2 separate regions of the Homo sapiens genome follow, and region 2 is linked to region 1. The links are contacts of gene promoters, found by promoter capture Hi-C in human tissues and cell types (Jung and others, 2019). All regions are on one chromosome and are shown on one strand. The core of a region is centred on a gene start or on the middle of the fragment in contact, and the rest is flanking DNA. Distances in the headings are between cores, read along the strand shown.

What was found. Contacts are between HindIII fragments. The study calls those that stand out against the background at their distance.
Region 2: a fragment that was not itself captured here is called in contact with the fragment with the promoter of TAF5L in region 1 in 1 of the 25 tissues and cell types used here (dorsolateral prefrontal cortex).

Annotation. Positions count from the first base shown.
Region 1 is chr1:229,624,517-229,628,134 of GRCh38, forward strand. TAF5L (TATA-box binding protein associated factor 5 like) reads right to left here and starts at 1,606. Exons shown (of 5, transcript NM_014409.4): 1 at 1,369-1,606. URB2 (URB2 ribosome biogenesis homolog) reads left to right here and starts at 1,731. Exons shown (of 10, transcript NM_014777.4): 1 at 1,731-1,840; 2 at 3,105-3,243. The coding sequence starts at 3,118. RefSeq lists enhancers at 515-564, 2,225-2,304 and silencers at 1,055-1,244, 1,335-2,034. The HindIII fragment of the contact is 5,407 bases long and covers 1-3,618 here.
Region 2 is chr1:230,092,665-230,096,282 of GRCh38, forward strand. All of the region lies in intron 1 of GALNT2 (polypeptide N-acetylgalactosaminyltransferase 2), which reads left to right. Among named protein-coding and RNA genes, the nearest start is that of GALNT2, 27 kb to the left of the region's middle. The HindIII fragment of the contact is 6,338 bases long and covers 1-3,618 here.

The DNA of each region.
Region 1 (3,618 bases), core at 356-2,855:
TTTAAAAAGGTCGTTTTTTGGGAGGCTGAGGCGGGAGGACTGCTTGAGCCCAGGCCTGGGCAACATAGAGGCACCCTGTCTCTTAAAGATAAAAAAAAATCCACGTTTAAGTTATTCCTTATCATCGCATTTTATAGATGAGGAAACTACAGTTCAGAGAGGTTATGCAGATGGCTACATGGTTTCCATCCTAGGTCTACTGTCACCAAGCTCTATCCACTACATTATGCTGTTCCAAAGTTTAAAGATGTGGCCAGATGCATTTAACCTATTAAGCACAAAACTCCCTTTCCTACTCCCCCTTCCAAGTAGAGCTGTGACCAGGAACTGGGGCACAGCCTCCGTGTCCTCCCCTACATCCCCAACTCAGGTGTTGGCACACTTGAATCGCCTGATATAAGACACGCTCCGCACTTAATGTTCCTCTCAGCACAGCTCCCAACTGCTTGTTAGCAGGAGTCACCATTCCGAGATTCCAATCTGCAAGGTCAGTTTAGGTACAGTAATTTAAGACAGACACTGCATGGGACTGGCACTTACCTTCTGATCCCAGAACCACAAAGACTGCGAGATCCGCATTACAACGACTTTCACAACTGATGGGAGAACTGCATGTAGCGTTCCTGCACTCCACTTCCGCTAAGTCTAAAATGACACCACTGTTTCTAACCATCCACTCACTTCGGACCAACGCCTTATCGAATACATTTTCAAAAGCCTGGCAGCTTCGCGAGCTGGAGGTGGTGAACCCGTCCCACACCATGGGCGCACCAACCTTACCTTGCTGTCATGAGGCAACGAGCCCCGAGAGACACCCTTGCAGGTAAGCACTCTCCTGCAGCAGCTAGTCTAACTCTGGCTCCCCCGTGTCACACGCGGAGATCGACTCCACACCCACCCACGCACGATCACCATGTGCAAAGTTGAATCCCGACTTCGCCGCAAAGACATTTCCTTTTCCCCTACATGCAAAGGAGCTGTGGAGCCGTGCTCCCTGCTTGGCTGTCGGGCACTGGGATACCTTCCCCGCGGGCGCCCGCCACCTCCTCCCCGAGCCCGGCATCCAACCCGCAGGACCCACCCCTGCGCAGGAACGCGACGCCAGTCCAGGTGTAGCCGCCGACTGCAGGCCACGCCGCCGGCCGCAGCCCGGGACTCGGGAGGCCGAGGGCGGAGGCGCGGCCGTCGCGCCCGCGCAGAGCCGCCCGCCGCCCCCCAGCCCCGCCTCCCGCGCCCCACCCCCACCGCCCGCCGGCGGGAGCCAAGGCGCGCCCCGCCGAGGCCCCACCGCCCCGGCCCCCGCCCGCCCGCGCGCGCGCGCGCCTCGCGACCCTCCCGGCCCTCCCCGCCCGTGCTCCCGGCACTCACTGAACATCCCAGGCGGCTCCGGCTCCCCCCGCCGCCGCCGCCTCCGGGATCGGGTTGCTTCCGCCTCCGTCGTCTCTGCCGCAGGGTCTCACTCCGACGGCCGGCTCAGCTGGGCCCCCGCGCCCCGCGCCCCGCCGCCCCCGCCGCCGCTCTGGGCGGCCGCTCCATGACTGACTGACACGGAGCGGGCCGCGGGCTGGGCCGCTCGGGCCTCCAACGCGCAACCGTCTCCGCCAATGGGCGAGGCGCCTCGGCGCTCGGCTGGCGACGCCTGGCGTGCGTGCAGCCCCTCCCCGCTGCGCCGCCGGCGTCCGGCGGAAGGAGCGCGGGTACCGGTCCCACGTGGTGGGGACGCGGGACCCGTACAGCGGCCTCCGCCGCACCGGGACAGCAGCCGCCGCCGCTGCCGCCGTCCTCCCCTGTCTACCCGGAGCTGTCTCGAGCTGAGCCCCCTACCGGGCCGGATCCCGAGGTGAGTCCCCCACCTGCGGTCAGCCCCTGCGGGCAGCCAGGTCCCGAGGTGAGTCCCCCCACCCGGGGCTGGTCCAGAGGAGATCCCCCTACCTAAGGCCGGGCCCAGATGGGGGGCCCCCCAACCCTGCCCAGTTCCGGTGCCGCCAGCAGACTCTGGGCTGGAGCGGCTTCGGCACGCTCCATTCGCGAAGGCGAACTCCCTCCTGGCTCCTAGCTGCTCTCCCCTGGTTCTTGTTGCTTGGTCTCTTTCTGCTGGGCAGGGAGTGCTGGCAGGGCTGTGCTGTCCGCCCTGGACTTCGCATTGCCCGGTAAGGGCGGTTGGAGGCCCGGAGAGCCGAACTCTGGCGGAGCCGGGGAGAGCATCTCGGTTGTCTTTGTAGCCAGTTCAGCAAACACCTGTTATGCACTTTGTAGCTGTCGCGATGGCGGTTCTATGGTATTGAACTTAGAAAGTCAGGCATCGTTGAATTCGTTTTGGACATTTTGACAAAATAGGAAAACTGACAGCACTTGACGTTCTTGTTCTCTGCAGTAGAGTGAAGGATAACTTAATTTCTAAAATGAAAACGTCTTAACGTTCCTTTTTACTATAACTTTTAGGAAACTCAAAGCCAAGTTTACCCAGTTTAATAGTAACTGTAGGTGTTTGGTATGTTTGCTACCCCCGAGATTTCATGGTTTTTTGTTTTCTATTTTTAGTCTTTTCCTTGTGCAAGTATCTCTTGTAGAGTCTTTTTTGAAGTGTATGTGCGTTGTAAATTTATACACGACTGAATAAAAGTGTTAGTGGAAGGTTACTGTTGCAGCTGAAATAACTGTATTCCTTTGGGGTTTTCTTTTTCACTTGGAGACATATTACTTTCTCCGGATATTGCTTATGTATCTTTTCCTCTTTCAATTTGAAACCATGTATGAATGACTCTTTCCACAAGTAATGTAATCACTGATTTTGGCCTTGTTGAATTCCTGAACACTCACCTTTGTGGAAGTGATGTTTGATCATAGCTGGAATACATATAGTCCATCTTCTGTGTGTGCAGTCCATCTTTTGCTTGCTTTTGTCTGAATTTCCCCCAGAAAATTCTGGAGTCAAGCATCTTGTATGTAGATTTACCCCGACAAATCTGTTGATTCATTAAAAACTTTTAAAAGAATACATATTAGGTAAACAAGATACAGTACTGCAATACTGTTGGTTTTCTGGTGCCTGCTCAGTCTGACATTGTTATAGTATTTTTTTTCCCATTGTTTTTAAATTTTAGATAAAGCCTAGCCATGGCTGCTGTTTATTCTGGCATTTCCCTTAAGCTTAAAAGCAAGACAACTTCCTGGGAAGATAAACTAAAACTAGCTCACTTTGCTTGGATTTCTCACCAGTGCTTTCTTCCAAATAAAGAACAAGTAAGTTTAATGTGAAACTCATATTTTTACAGTCTGTCAAGATAATTATCACTTTTATAATTTGGATATTGACAATTGGTTAAAATAAAAAAATAGAGAAAAAGTTGGGGAGGGAACTTTGTTGGAAGTTAAATGTAATGTCAATGAAAAAAGTAATGAGTCAGGTACTTCATTAATACATTTTTTTTTTCTGTTAAAAAACCTCATTTAGGTCGGGGACAGTGGCTCATGCCTGTCATCTCTATTTTGGGAGGCCAAAGCGGGGGATCGCTTGAGGCCAGGAGTTCTAGACCAGACTGGACAACATAATGAGATCCCATCTCTTAAAAAAATTATATATATTATATATGTATATATATGTATATATACATATAT
Region 2 (3,618 bases), core at 637-3,136, 470 kb after region 1:
TATCTCTAAATTCTGTGTCCATTATTCAGTATTCCTTTAACTTGTAGAGCATGGCTATTACGTGTTTAAGCAACATATATCTCTAAAAAGATTCGAGGCCGCTTATAAGAGAAAGTATATTATGTGTAAGCACAGATTCATTAAAATAAGAGTTTAAAAATCTGGGGTCAAATTTAGGGGGTAGAGGGGATGAGGGATAAAAAGGTGAAGGAAAAAAGAAGTGGATGGAGAATTAAAGAATGAAGGAGAATTAACACTGAACACCCACCCCCATGGAGCCGGATCCTGGCTAGGTGTTTGCCATCTGTGTTTAGTTTAATGCTCAGCATAATCCTGCGTGGCAGGTATGTTACCCCCATCTATAGGTCAAGAACCTGAAACCCAAAGTGCTGGCCGATTGTGCTCTAGTCCCCCTATACATTTCAGCTTACGTCTACTGACACTAAGCCAAGGGGAGCTCCTTCAGTTGAACGTGCAATTGTATCTTGGTAGCCAAAGCAAGAAAGGAAGCATGTTGGGTTGCATAGTTCTCATTTGATAATACAATGAAACATTTTCTTGAGAGAGAGAAACATTTTCTTAGCCTTCAAGCTTGATAAGAATCTAGTGGATATTAACTTAAAGGGCACTGAACATGATAATAGTGTCCGTCAGGGGGAGAAATAACAGAAACCAAAAGCAGAGATGCACACGTGGCCGTTTATTTAAATCAAACCTGAAGCAGAAGGAGGAGCATTAGATCACAGTTGTGTAAAGGCAATTCTAGGAGAAAACGATGGACTGTAGCTAGCTTTCTGCAGTCCTGACCTGGCCAAGGGTAAAACTAGATCGGCTGCGGGCTGTGTTCCCTGGGCTTCCTGCTGCTTCACTCCTGGGAGGCAGCACAGAGTGGTTGTTACGGGGAAGGTTTTCATAAGTGCTGTGAATCCACCCTGGGCCGTTTACTGGCCTTGCACATGTGGGCAAGGTACGGTCAAGCTCAGCATGATGACATTTTAGCCAATGACAGATCGAATACCCAATGGTGGTCTCATAAGATTATATACTGTATTTTTACTGTACCTCTGTGTTTAGATACACAAATACTATTATGTTATAGTTGCATACAGTATTCAGTACAGTAACAAGCAGTCCAGGTTTGCAGCCTAGGTGTGTAGTAGGCTATACCACCTCGTTTTGTGTAAGTGCATGCTATCATGTTGCCACAATAATGAAATCACCTAAGGGCACATTTCTCAGAAGGTATCCCTGTCATTAAGCAACACATGACAGTACTTAATCTCTCTAAGCCTTAGCTTCATCCCTTCTTAAATGAGGGTAATAATACTGTTTCGTCCACCTGTGTGTGTGTGTTTGAGATAGGGTCTCGCTCTGTTGCCCAGGCTGGAATGCAGTGGCACAAACATCACTGCAACCTCGATCTCCTGGGCTCAAGCAATCCTCCTGCCTCAGCATCCTGAGTAGCTAAGAATACAGGTGTGTGCCACCATGCTGGCTAATTTTTTTTTTTTTTTTTTTTTTTTTTTGGTAGAGATTGGGTTTTGCTATGTTGCTCAGGGTGGTGTCAAACTCCTGGCTTCAAGTGATCCTCCCACCTTGGCCTCTTAAAATGCTGGGATTACAGGCATGAGCCACCATGCCTGGCCTTATTTTTATATATTTAAGAACATATGCTTTCGGCCGGGGTGGCAGCTCATGCCTGTAATCCCAGCACTTTGGGAGGTCGAGGCGGGTGGGAGGCGGGTGGATTACCTGAGCTCAGGAGTTTGAGACCAGCCTGGCCAACATAGTGAAACCCCCCTCTCTACTAAAAATACAAAAAAATTAGCCAGGCGTGGTAGCAGGCACCTGTAATCCCAGCTACTTGGGAGGCTGAGGCAGGAGAATCACTTGAACCCGGGAGGCGGAGGTTGCAGTGAGCTGAGACTGCATCACTGCACTCCAGCCTGGGCAACAAGAATGAAACTCCGTCTCAAACAAAAACAAAAACACCATATGCTTTCCCAACACATCTGGACAGCTGATATTAAAAAAGGGTGTATGTAGTAGAATTAAAACTATTACAAGAGAAACAGAGCCAGACAGTTTGGGGAAGGGAGAAAACAGAGAGGTTGTGGGGGCACTTACCTTGAATCTTCTTAGGTCCCTTGTGTGTTGTTTTGCCTAATCCTTCCCACACGTCTGCAAAGAGGATGATCTCCCCACGTAGAGACAGGAAGCGGATTCCGATACCTCGCCTTCCCTGTGTTAGATGTGCCGTAGCTCCTACTGAGGGTGAGGATTAATTGGAGATGATGCAAGTGGACCTCTAAGCACGGGCCGCGATGATGTCGTAGTTCACGGTCACAGGACTGTCACTGCTGTTACAAACTGGCCCTTCTGCTCCGAGTCTGCTGGTCCTCATACGGTTCCTTTCTGTCTCTGGTTGTGTTGGTTAAGACAGAGTAGCTGCAATCAGGGAGAGTGTCGACCCTGACCCCAACAAGCAGGGAGAGCTAGTGCAGAATGTGGGCAGTGGCAGCAGACCCGCGGGGCTGTGACACTGTCCTTTCTGTGGCTTGGGTGGACTTCAGGGTGACCCATCTAGCAGAGTAAAAATAGTAACCCCACATGCTGACCATGTACCCCCTGCTTTCACGCACTTTTATGGGTGAATTCACCTATCCGTTATAGAAACTCCATGAGGCGTTTTTATTATCCCCATTTTACAGATGAAGCTGTCAGGGAGAGAGGTTGAGTTGCCGGCAGTCTCACATGTAGAAGTGGTGAAGTGGGAATTCAGACCCACCCCTGCGGGCTCCTCAGCCAGGCCTGCTCTTAGCATCCCAGTGTGCTGCTCTGTGACGAGCCCCAGTATTGGGATCCACTCTCCAGATGAGGTTTGAAGAGTTCCGAAGTGGAACGTCTTTCTGGGTTGGCTGGCTGTAGAGGGGTTGGTGACTCCAGTGTCCTGTGGTGGTAGACAGTCTCCAGCCAAGGGCATGTACTTCTCACCTCCCTGCCTCGTGAATCTGGTCAGTCTGGTGTCAAACTTGAACCAGTAGACTGCTGTGGATGTGACACTGGGCGTGGTGCAGGCTCTGTCCTTGAGGGGCCTGGTAGCCCCACCTGGGTCCCCTGGGGCCCAACTGCCATGCTAGAAGACGTCCAGGCTGCTCTGCTGGAGAAAGAAACCGTGTGGGGTTGCCTGGAGGGTGAGACATGTTGGAGGGGAGGGAGGGAGAGGCCAAGGCCTCAGACAGGTGAGAGAGCCCCAGCCGCGAGGCACCTGTGGTCTCACCATGGGACATAAGAACTTGTTTAAGCCATGACGTTTTGGGAGGGCTTTTGTGCAGGAATGGCACCCGGAACTCCTGCTTCCCATGAACCCAGGGCTGTGGGCCTGGCTGCTGGGAGTGAGCCATTTGCTGGGCCAGGGATTTGCCCTGCTGCAGGGACTTTTCTAACCCAGCCGGGCCAGGCTCACCTGGGGGCCCTTTTGATTTTGAGAGGACGCATACCTCAGCCTGCATTTTGGTGTCCTCTTGCTAGCACCTGCCAGCTGAGGTTGAGCCATGGTGGACAATTTTTCCTTTTAAGACGATTCTAGTTACTGAACCAAAGATATTAATTATGTGC